3 separate regions of the Homo sapiens genome follow, and regions 2 and 3 are each linked to region 1. Evidence: promoter capture Hi-C in 16 types of primary human blood cells and fetal thymus (Javierre and others, 2016). All regions are on one chromosome and are shown on one strand. Each heading gives the region's core, a stretch centred on a gene start or on the middle of the fragment in contact. The rest is flanking DNA. Distances are from core to core; before and after follow the strand shown. Region 1 holds the start of SPEN (spen family transcriptional repressor). Region 2 holds the start of ARHGEF19 (Rho guanine nucleotide exchange factor 19). Region 3 overlaps AGMAT (agmatinase (putative)).

What was found. The method cuts DNA at HindIII sites, captures the fragments that hold promoters and counts their contacts. A CHiCAGO score of 5 or more calls a contact.
Region 2: a contact is called between the fragment with the promoter of ARHGEF19 here and the fragment with the promoter of SPEN in region 1, in 1 of 17 cell types (activated CD4 T cells). The highest score is 5.2, in activated CD4 T cells.
Region 3: a contact is called between a fragment that was not itself captured here and the fragment with the promoter of SPEN in region 1, in 1 of 17 cell types (non-activated CD4 T cells). The highest score is 5.8, in non-activated CD4 T cells.

Annotation. Positions count from the first base shown.
Region 1 is chr1:15,846,102-15,849,424 of GRCh38, reverse strand. SPEN (spen family transcriptional repressor) reads right to left here and starts at 1,718. Exons shown (of 15, transcript NM_015001.3): 1 at 1,275-1,718. The coding sequence starts at 1,357. It overlaps SPEN-AS1 (SPEN antisense RNA 1), which reads left to right and starts at 1,278. Exons shown (of 2, transcript NR_024279.1): 1 at 1,278-1,317. RefSeq lists enhancers at 1-140, 1,564-2,075, 2,076-2,588 and silencers at 812-1,231, 1,412-1,981. The HindIII fragment of the contact is 15,488 bases long and covers 1-3,323 here.
Region 2 is chr1:16,211,110-16,214,432 of GRCh38, reverse strand. ARHGEF19 (Rho guanine nucleotide exchange factor 19) reads left to right here and starts at 1,781. Exons shown (of 16, transcript NM_153213.5): 1 at 1,781-1,931. RefSeq lists an enhancer at 1,279-1,977. The HindIII fragment of the contact is 4,473 bases long and covers 1-2,508 here.
Region 3 is chr1:15,576,992-15,580,314 of GRCh38, reverse strand. It overlaps AGMAT (agmatinase (putative)), which reads left to right. Exons shown (of 7, transcript NM_024758.5): 3 at 173-221; 4 at 1,261-1,456; 5 at 2,451-2,630. Among named protein-coding and RNA genes, the nearest start is that of AGMAT, 6.4 kb to the left of the region's middle. The HindIII fragment of the contact is 1,332 bases long and covers 908-2,239 here.

The DNA.
Region 1 (3,323 bases), core at 469-2,968:
CAACACAATCAATGATCCTCCATTTAAAAGACAGGAGCTCCGCCGCCGCTGCTTCCATTTCCTTATCCAAGCGGCTCAAAGCGAGCGACGCAATCTATTTTTCCCATGGTGACTCATTAATGAGGACGCTCCATAATTTCCTTCACTCACTACATAGTAAGGGAAATTAAAAGCCAAACTTAAAACCTTCCAGGGTCTTAAATATCGGAATAAACTGTCATTTTCGAGGACAACCACAGATTTGCTATGGTCCCTCTGAATCTGCACCAAGTCCAAGCCAATCGTCATTTTAATAAGTGTTTTATGCGGAGGCCTATCTGTTACGGTACACAGGCATTTCACAAAGAAAACGCACTACACGCTACTCAATAAGATGTATCAACGACAACATTTATTCTTATAATTCACAAAAATATTCAGGGGAGGTTTTTTTTTTAAGCTACATCTTCTCATCGTAAAAGGTTTGGAATGTTTTACCGTTTGATTCGGGAATTCAGGGGTGGGGGGCACCAGGGTCTTAGGGCGGCCTGGGAGTGCGACCCGAGGCTACGGGCGCCGGGGCTAGCAACCTCCTGTCAGACGCGGTCTCCTCCGCCGGGGACGAGGAAGCCCAAACGGGCGCACCAACTTATTTCACACCACTCTCCACCCAGCCCCGCAAAAACGAGAAACGTTTGCCATTCCCAGTGAGTTTCAAGGCTGCAAATCCTCCGGAGAGGTCCTAGATGGTCTCTCCGGGTCCGCGACGCGACCACAGTACCTACTGCGACTTCTGTTTTCGCACCGCCTTTCCCTTCGCACGGAACCCTCCCGAAGTCAGACATTGCCGAGCGCCCGCAGAGCAGCTTGGAGTGGCGGCGCCGGACCCGGCTGTCGGGCGGGCTCGGGTCCCGGCTGCTCCGGGCCGGGCACTGCGCGCAAGGACGCGACCCCGCCGCCCAGCGCATCTCCCACCGACTCCCGGGCTGACGCGAGGGCAGCCCCGGGGCGCCGGCTGCGTGGAGGCCGAGCCTCGGTCACCTCCCTCGTCACGGACGCGGCCGCCGGGGCCCCGCGGGCTCTTCGAAGGCGGCGCGGCTTGGCCGCCCGCACCGCCGACACCCGAGGCCCAACGCCGCGACGCGGGCCGAGCGGCTGACGAGGTCCCACAGCGCCCGTGGGTCCGGGCCGGAGTCCTCCTCACCAGCTCCGCGCTCCGGGAGGGGCCGGCAACGGGCCGGGGCGGGAAGCGGCGCCCGAGGAGCGAGCGCGGCCGCGGGCCTCGTGTCACTCACCGTTTGAAATGCTCGATGATCTTCTCTTCCCGCACGTTCTCGGGTAAGTTGCCCACCCAGAGATGCCTGGTTTCCCGGACCATGCTGGGCGGCGTGCCGGCGACCGCCGCTGCTGGCTCCCCCTCGCCGGCTTCGTACGAGACCGTCAGCGCCGGGAGGCGGGTGCCGGGGCGGCGGCGGCGGCGGCTGCGGCGGTGGCGTCGGCAGCGGCGGCGGCTCCTCCGGCTCCCCCCCGTGCAGAGACCATCCCTCTCCCCCAGGTTCTGACTCTCGGGCCTCGCAGCTCAGCTCTGCCGCCACCACACACCCGAAGCCGACCCTCGCGCTCCGGCAGCGCATGCGCCCGGGCAGGGGCGGGCGGGGGAGCGGGAGGAGGGGCGAGCGGGACACGGGCGGCAGCGACTACGACGGAGCTGGCGCTGTGGCAGCCGGACGCTTCCCACTGGCGCGCGCGGCCCGACTCCCGCCGCCGCACTGCCTCCCCCTCGCCGCGGGCGCGCGCGCGTCCTCCCGCCTGCCAAGGCGGAGAAGCTGAGTTCCTCCCAGCCGGCGCGCAGGCGCGCGGACCGGGCGACGAAGTGAGGGACTACAGGCGGGGAAGGAACGCTCGCGCGCTCGGCCCCGGTGCGCAGGCGCGCAGCTGCTAGTGGAGTCCCGCTGCTTGGCGGGCTCTCGGTCGGGTTCCCGCGCCGGGCAAGGGGCGGCTGAGGAAGCAGGAGCGGTCTTTAGCCCCTCCAGCGGCAACCCCAGGCCCCGGCCTGGTGGAAGATATGAAGAGAAATGCAATTGGTTTCCACAGGGCTACGGGTCAAAGCGGCTGCCAAGGCCTGTCCCCTAGAAGTCAGGACCCCTTCGTCCTCCGCTCACCTGGCGGCCAGCTCCTGGCGTTTCCGGACACTTAGATTCCTGCCTGCTTGGGAAAGCGATCAGAAAAAGGTTGCCCTTCTCACCGCTCTGCTGAACAGCGACGGCTTCAGAAACGCATCCCATCCAAGAGTCACTGGCTTGTAACATGAAGCAACTTTTTTTTTTTTAATACGGGGTCTCGCTCTGTTGCCCAGGCTGCTGGAGTGCAGTGGCACGGTCTCGGCTCACTGCAATCTCCGCCTCCCAGACTCAAGCGATTCTCCTGCCTCAGCCTCCCAAGTAGCTGGGATTACAAGCACCCGCAACCACACCTGGCTAATTTTTGTATTTTTATTAGAGACAGGGTTTCACCATGTAGGCCAGGCTGGTCTTGAACTCCTGACCTCAGGTGATCCGCCCGCCTCGGCCTCCTAAAGTACTGGGAGTACAGGCGGGAGTCACTGCACCTGGCCTAAGCAACTTTTTTATATAGAATCTTGCGAAACCGTTTGCAAGATACCCTTGCTGATCGCTGTGGTATAGAAGGAATAAAACGGAAATGAGACAGGAATCCAATATTGTTCCCCTCAGACCATAATTTAATATTTAAACAGAGAAAGGAATTAGACCTCTGGCCTTTCCAGGCCTAAGAGCTTTTGAAACCTACAGTTGAACTTTCTTTTTTTTTTTTTTTCCTTTGAGACGGAGTTTTGCTTTTGTTGCCCAGGCTGGAGTGCAATGGTGTGTTCTCGGCTTACTGCAACCTCTGTCTCCTGGGTTCAAGCGATTCTCCTGCTTCAGCCTCCTGAGTAGCTGGGATTACAGGCATGCGCCACCATGCCCGGCTAATTTTTGTATTTTTAGTAGAGACAGTTTCTCTGTGTTGGTCAAGCTGGCCTCGAACTCACAACCTCAGGTAATCCACCCGCCTCAAGCCTCCCAAAGTGCTGGGATTACAGGCTTGAGCCACCACGCCCAGCCTCTTTTTTTTTTTTTTTCCTGAGACCAAGTTTCACTCTTGTTAGCCAAGCTGGGGCACAATGGCGCTGTCTCAGCTCACTGCAACCTCCGCCTCCCAGGTTCAAGCGATTCTCCTGCGTCAGCCTTCCGAGTAGCTGGAATTACAGGCGCGCACCACCACACCAGGCTAGTTTTTTGTATTCTTAGTAAAGACGGGGTTTCACCATGTTGGCCAGGCTGGTC
Region 2 (3,323 bases), core at 532-3,031, 360 kb before region 1:
GTTATAAGTAATCTAGAATTGATTTAAACTGTACTGGAGTGCCGGGCGTGGTGGCTCATGTCTATAAATCCAGTACTTTGGGAGGCCAAGGCTGGTGGATCGCCTGAGCCCAGGAGTTTGAGACTAGGCTGGGCAACCTGGTGAGATCCCATCTCTACAAAAAATACAAAAATTAGTCAGGTGTGGGGGTGCACACCAGTGGTCCCAGTTACTCAGGAGGCTTAGGTGGGAGAATCACCTGAGCCCAGGAGGTCGACGAGACTGCAAGTGAGCCCTGTAATTGCACCACTGTACTCCAGCCTGGATGACAGAGTGAGACCCTCTCACTTGAGGACATTTTATTTTATTTTTTGACAATAAATACATAAAATAGACTGGGTGCGGTGGCTCACGTCTATAATCCCAGCACTTCGGGAGGTTGAGGCGGGTGGATCACTTAAGGTCAGGAGTTCAAAAACCAGCCTGGCCAACATGGTGAAACCCTGTCTTGACTAGAAACAAAAAAAATTAGTAGGGTGTGGTGGCATGCGCCTGTAATCCCAGCTACTGGGGAGGCTGAGGCAGAAGAATTGCTTGAACCTGGGAGGCAAAGGTTGCGGTGAGCTGAGATCCCACCACTTGCTCCAGCCTGGGTGACAGAGCAAGACTCCATCTTAAAAATAAATAAATAAATAAATAAATAAATAAATAAATAAATAAATAAAATAAAATAAAATAAAATTTACTGGAGGATGTACAAAGGTTATAGCAAACACTATGACATTTTGTATAAGGGACTGGAGCAGCCATGGATTTTCGTATGGGAGGGTTCTAGAACCAATTCCCCACAGATTCTGGGTACCAAGGGACAACTGTACTCACCTGATAAGTGGTAGCAGTATCTACCTGACAGGGTCATGGTGGAGATTAAATGAGTAAATACATGTGAAGTGCTCAGGACAGTGCCTGGCACCTAGTAGGTGAACAATAAGTTAGCTTCATGACTATTAGTCTGTGTACACATCTGCATATTAATATTAGGTGCCTGGCAATTGCTGGTAGCTCAAACAGATGGCAGGTAGAATTAGGGGAAAATGCAGCTTCCCATTCCACAGGGTTGGGAAGATTGCATGCCGGGCATAGAGCATGCCCTTCTTATTGGAGGCAGTTTGACTTGGCTATTTGGCTTGGTTTATTGAGGGCTCAATTGGTATAGTCTGGGAAGGCTTCATGGTGGAGGCGGCCACTGGAGATGGTGGGGCAGGTCATTCCAGGCCGTGGGAAAGGATGGGGATTTGCAAGCAGTGGCTGTACTAGATGAGGAGAGGCTGTCCAGGATGATGCCACATGTCACATCATCAACTTTCAGGACTGATTTCTGTCTCCCAATCATAGGGATGAGTGTTCCAATTTGATAGATGTAGTAATAGGATCAGAGAGGGTCATCAGGGTTCTCAGGGTCCCTAAGGAGTGCAGGGCTTGGGAGGCTCTCTGTGAAGCTCCCAGGATGCTCCCCAGCTCCAAGAAGTCCCCTGAGCATGCTCATGTTTGGGAAGCTCCAGAAGAGTGGTGACCTGTCTCCTAGGAGCAGAAGCACTGCCTCCCCCGTCTTTAGGACCTGGGTGTAGGGTCCTTCAGAGCCTCACTTGGGCATAGGACTCCCATTGTTCCAGCCCCCCTCTTGTACCCCAGACTAGCCAAACCGGTTCTGGGGAAGGGGGGCGGGGAGCAGGCACGTTGAGACAGCCGCCTGCCTCTCTCTGCAAGGTTCCCTCCTCCTTCACCTCCCCCTCCCTGCCCCACACAATACCCAGGAGCTTGCCTTGCTCGGCTCTGGGGCCATGCTGACATGCTGACATCGCCCCCTGAGGACTTGGCTGCAACCCCAGAGCCCCCAGGGTGTCCCGGAGCCCTGGACCGTGCTGGCAGCTGGACGGAGCTCCCTGGCTGAGGTAGGGCCCCACCTGGGTGCCAGCAGTCCCATTCTCTTCCCGCCAGTTTTCCCCGCTGAGTGAGCCCTTTGTGCTGCCCGCCTGGTCTCTGATCCTGGCTCTGACCCACTATGGCCTTCTGGGGCTCTGTGAACCACTTGGCCTGGATCCACTTTCCAGCCATGACTTCCCACCTGGCTTTATTCCTTAAAGGGCAGAGAGGCTCTGGCAGGGTACCAGCTCTCCTGGGCAGCAAGGCAAGGGGCACCCGGGAGGGGGCAGGGAAAAGCTAGGTACAGGAGGCCAGAAACACTTTTTCTGATCATGGTAGTGTCCAGGGACTCTCTGGCAGCCTTGCTAAGTGGGCCCATCGTCTTCTGTAATTAGCAGCACCCACCAAGGGTACTTTCCTCGGCCCCTGCCCATCCTTCTTGGCCCAGAGACATTTATGATGAGACATGTTTCTTAGAGAGGGCATTGGGCGGTGGTGCGGTCCCTTAGGAGCCACTTTACAGATGGGAATACTGAGGCCAAGGGATGGGCTGTGAATTGCCTAAGGCCACACAGCTGGTCAGTGTCAACACTGGGCCTCAAAGCTTGGGCGGAGGTTATTCTTTTTGGGCTCCAGAGTGGCCCTTGCCTAGTAGACACAAGAGTCTCTATCCTGTGATCGTGCCTTGGGAAGGTAATGTCCCTGCTGTCTGGGGCCAGTTCTCTTTCTGAGGTTTTTGTTTGTTTTTTTCTAACAGAGATGAGCTACACACAATATGAACACAGCTTGTCCCTCTTAGCTCCCCAGCATTGAGGTTGGGTGGGCCAAACCCCTGGAGGGCCACAGGGCTGGCATCCCAGCTAGATGGGTCATTCTTATTACCCCTTGGCTTGAGCATAGGTGGAGGCTGACACACTCCTGACTTCTTCCCTGCTAGGGACCTGCCTCCAGCTTCATCTCCCCGGGAAGCCTTCTATGTCCCCTCTCCCCACATTCACCTAGCCTTCTCCTCTGCAGCCTTAACTGGGGGTGCTCCTGCTGCAAAGCCTCAATGTTTTGCCTACTTATCCCTGTGAGCCATGGGAGAGAGGGTCCCTCCCTGCCCTCCAGGAGCTTCCAGAACCCAAGTGCTAGAATCTCCCAGCATACAAAGGGGCAGGGGGCATGTGTACATGCCTGCACATGTGTGCCCCCAGAAGCAAGTGGGACTTCTGTGTCGAGGACTTCTGATTCCTGCAGAGAAAGAGACCCGTCTGTGGGCAGGGGCCTCCTTGTGCACACTCCTGCGATATAATGTGTGTCTCAGCCTCACTCCTTCATCTTCCCCATCTGTGTGAAGGCCTGAGCTGCCTTCTGTCTAGAGAAAGACTGATGATAATAAAAATACTATCCTATTTGCCGGATGAGGAGACCGAGGCTTA
Region 3 (3,323 bases), core at 324-2,823, 270 kb after region 1:
AGAATCGCTTGAACCTGGGAGGCAGAGGTTGCAGTGAGCCGAGATTGTGCCATTGAACTCCAGCCTGGACAACAGAGCAAAACTACATCTCAAAAAAAAAAAAAAAAAAAAAAGATTATTCTATGTAATCCTCCAATTCACTTTCCAGATGTTTTCTTCTTCCTCTTTGCAGGTGGAGATCACACAATCACATATCCCATATTGCAAGCGATGGCAAAAAAGTAAGTCTCAAATGGCTTGGGCCCAGCAAGATTTCAAAAGCCAGAAGCTAGGGAATGAGTTATTTGCTGTTTGGTGGCATTAGGTGACTGCTGCTGGCTCAGGTTATGAGCTGCTTCTGGGGATCAAAATTAAGGTTGAGCTCCAGGTGTCTCTGTCAGTCAGCAGCTAGAAGCCAAGACAATTTATTATTAACAGTTCTGGCCACCCTCCCTTGCCCTAGATCTCTCCTGGTATGTGTGCTCAGCATTTTCAACTTGCTTCTGTTTTTGGAAGATGAGCCTCTAGTGAAATACACAACCTCAGTTAACTTCAGTTTCTGTTTTGCTTCAATGGCCAAAAACAAACACTGACAGGCACAATGGTGGACCTTGCTGAGAGGCCCTTGTTTCCTCCTGAAAGGGCACCTTTCTCAATCAAAAGACTGATTTGCCAGTAGTGGAAGTCTACCCAGGATTGGCCGACTTTGGCTAATTTAGTTTGAGAAAGAGACAGAAGGACCCGGGTGGAGGGTGGCAGCTCCAGAATGTGTCTGTGGAAGCACATGTGGGTGGCATTCTGGTTGGAGGTGGGAGGGTGCAGGTCTTTGCTCAAAGCTGCATTTATTCCTCACGGATTTGGATCAGATGTTTATTTTGGGTGGCTGGCAGGGGTTGATGGAGGTTATGGAGAGAGCTGGATTAAAGCTTCCTCTTCCTCGGTTGGAGAAAGGGTGTGTCTTGGTTTAGTTAAGCCTTCAGCCAAGCTCCCCTGTGCCACCACCCTTGATTCTCATCCTGTCTCTAAGTGAAGCAAATTCTGGGTGATAGGTGTGGGTGGCAGCCAAAACATGTCTATTTCCTGCCTGACTTCTGTGAGTTTATTGTTCCTCTGAGATGCAAAGTGATCTCAAGAAGACAGGAACCAGTTGCAAGGCAGAAAACGGATGCCAGGTCTCCCCTTTTTGGCTGTGAATTGTCACCAAGTTTTGGTGGCCCGAAGGGTGGCTGTGCTAGGGCCCCACAGGGAGGGTTGGCCTCTGAGCTGCCCTGTTGTCATCAGGCATGGCCCAGTGGGGCTGCTGCACGTGGATGCGCACACGGACACGACCGACAAGGCCCTAGGAGAGAAGCTCTACCACGGGGCGCCCTTCCGCCGGTGTGTGGATGAGGGTCTCCTGGACTGTAAGCGTGTGGTGCAGATTGGCATCCGGGGCTCTTCCACGACCTTGGATCCCTACAGATACAACCGGAGCCAGGTGACAGACCGAATGCCCCCCACCCTTGCCCCTCAAAATGTCTTCCTCTCCGTTGCCTCACCAGTGGCAGCCAGGGATTGAGCGGGGGCTTTACTAATCAAGTCTGAAGCAGGGATACAAGGCTGAGTTTGCATCATCAGGGGCATAAGGAGCATAGGAGTGAGGAAGTTGGTTTATGGGCCATGGGAAGTCTATCGCTGGGCGGGGGAGACAAGCAGAAATCGACCAACCCCTCGGACGGTGCTGGCTTAGAAGAGGGGAGGAGGCCGGGCACAGTGGCTCACACCTGTAATCCCAGCACTTTGGGAGGCTAAGGTGGGTGGATCACCTGAGGTCAGGAGTTCGAGACCAGCCTGGCCAACATGGTGAAACCCCGTCTCTCCTAAAAATACAAAAATTAGCCAGGTGTGGCGGTGCGCACCTGTAATCCCAGCTACTCGGGAGACTGAGGCAGGAGAATTGCTTGAACGTGGGAGGTGGAGGTTGCAGTGAGCTGAGATCGCGCCACTGCACTCTAGCCTAGGTGACAAAGTGAGACTCCATCTCAAAAGAAAAAAAAAAGAGGGGAGGAAGTCCGGACCCAAGATGAGTTGCCACCTTCTTAGTTCTGGTCCTCGTACCCTCTAGGCAGAATGGCTCTCAGATAGACGTGTATGACAAGACCCCAATGGAACAGACCCAAATCCCTTGCTTTTAGAGCGTGCCAAGGCCAGTCTTCTGGACAGAGCAATTCAAAAGGTGCTAGCGTGAGCTGCTGTTTCCCACTCTTGCTTTAGCAAAGCTTCTCTCTGATTCCAACTCCATCAGTCAGCTTTGACCCTGCTTCCTTACCACTCATTGTCCCTCCCTTCCTCACCTGTAAAATAGGATAGTTCCCTCTTCATGGAGATGGAGGGTCAAGTGTCATGTGCACACAGAGCTGAGCATGGGGCTGGCAAACAGGAAATGCCCTGTAAATGCTGCCAGACAGAAACCTCAGTCCCTGTCTCTGCAGGGCTTCCGGGTAGTCCTGGCTGAAGACTGCTGGATGAAGTCGCTGGTTCCTCTGATGGGGGAAGTCAGGCAGCAGATGGGAGGCAAACCCATTTATATCAGCTTTGATATTGACGCTCTGGATCCTGCCTATGCGCCAGGGACAGGGACACCTGAAATTGCTGGTCTCACTCCTAGTCAGGTAAGGAGATTCCACCAGTGAAGATCCTGGGGGTGGAGACACTTAACACCCATTTTCCTGGGACTTGAAGCGAATCTTTAGGAATCAGGATAGGATTTTTGTTTGTTTGTTTGAGACGGAGTCTCACTCTGTCGCCCAGGCTGGAGTGCAGTGGTGCGATCTCGGCTCACTGCAACCTCCGCCTCCCAGGTTCAAGCGATTCTCCTGCCTCAGCCTCCTGAGTAGCTGAGATTACAGGCACATGCCACTACGCCCGGCTAATTTTTGTATTTTTAGTAGAGATGGGGTTTCACCATGTTGGTCAGGCTGGTCTTGAACTCCTGATCTCGTGATCCACTCACCTCGGCTTCCCAAAGTGCTGGGATTACGGGTGTCAGCCACCGCGCCTGGCTGCCAAGGTAGGATTTTAAGAGCAGAGCACCTAGGCCTTTTCTGTTCTCTGGGCTGAGGATAAGTTTGAATACCCTCTTACTGAAGGGTGATTGATTTTGGCAAGGGCCTTCATTTCCTATCTGGGATATAATAGTCCCTTATTTTGTCCTTTATTTGCTCTTCCTGCCTTCAGTTCATCTGTCATGAAAACAACAGTTCATAGGAACAACATTATAGTATCCTCTCTTAAGAACACTAAACTTGGCCGGGCACGGTGGCTCACGTCTATAATCCCAGCACTTTGGGAGGCTGAGGTGGGTG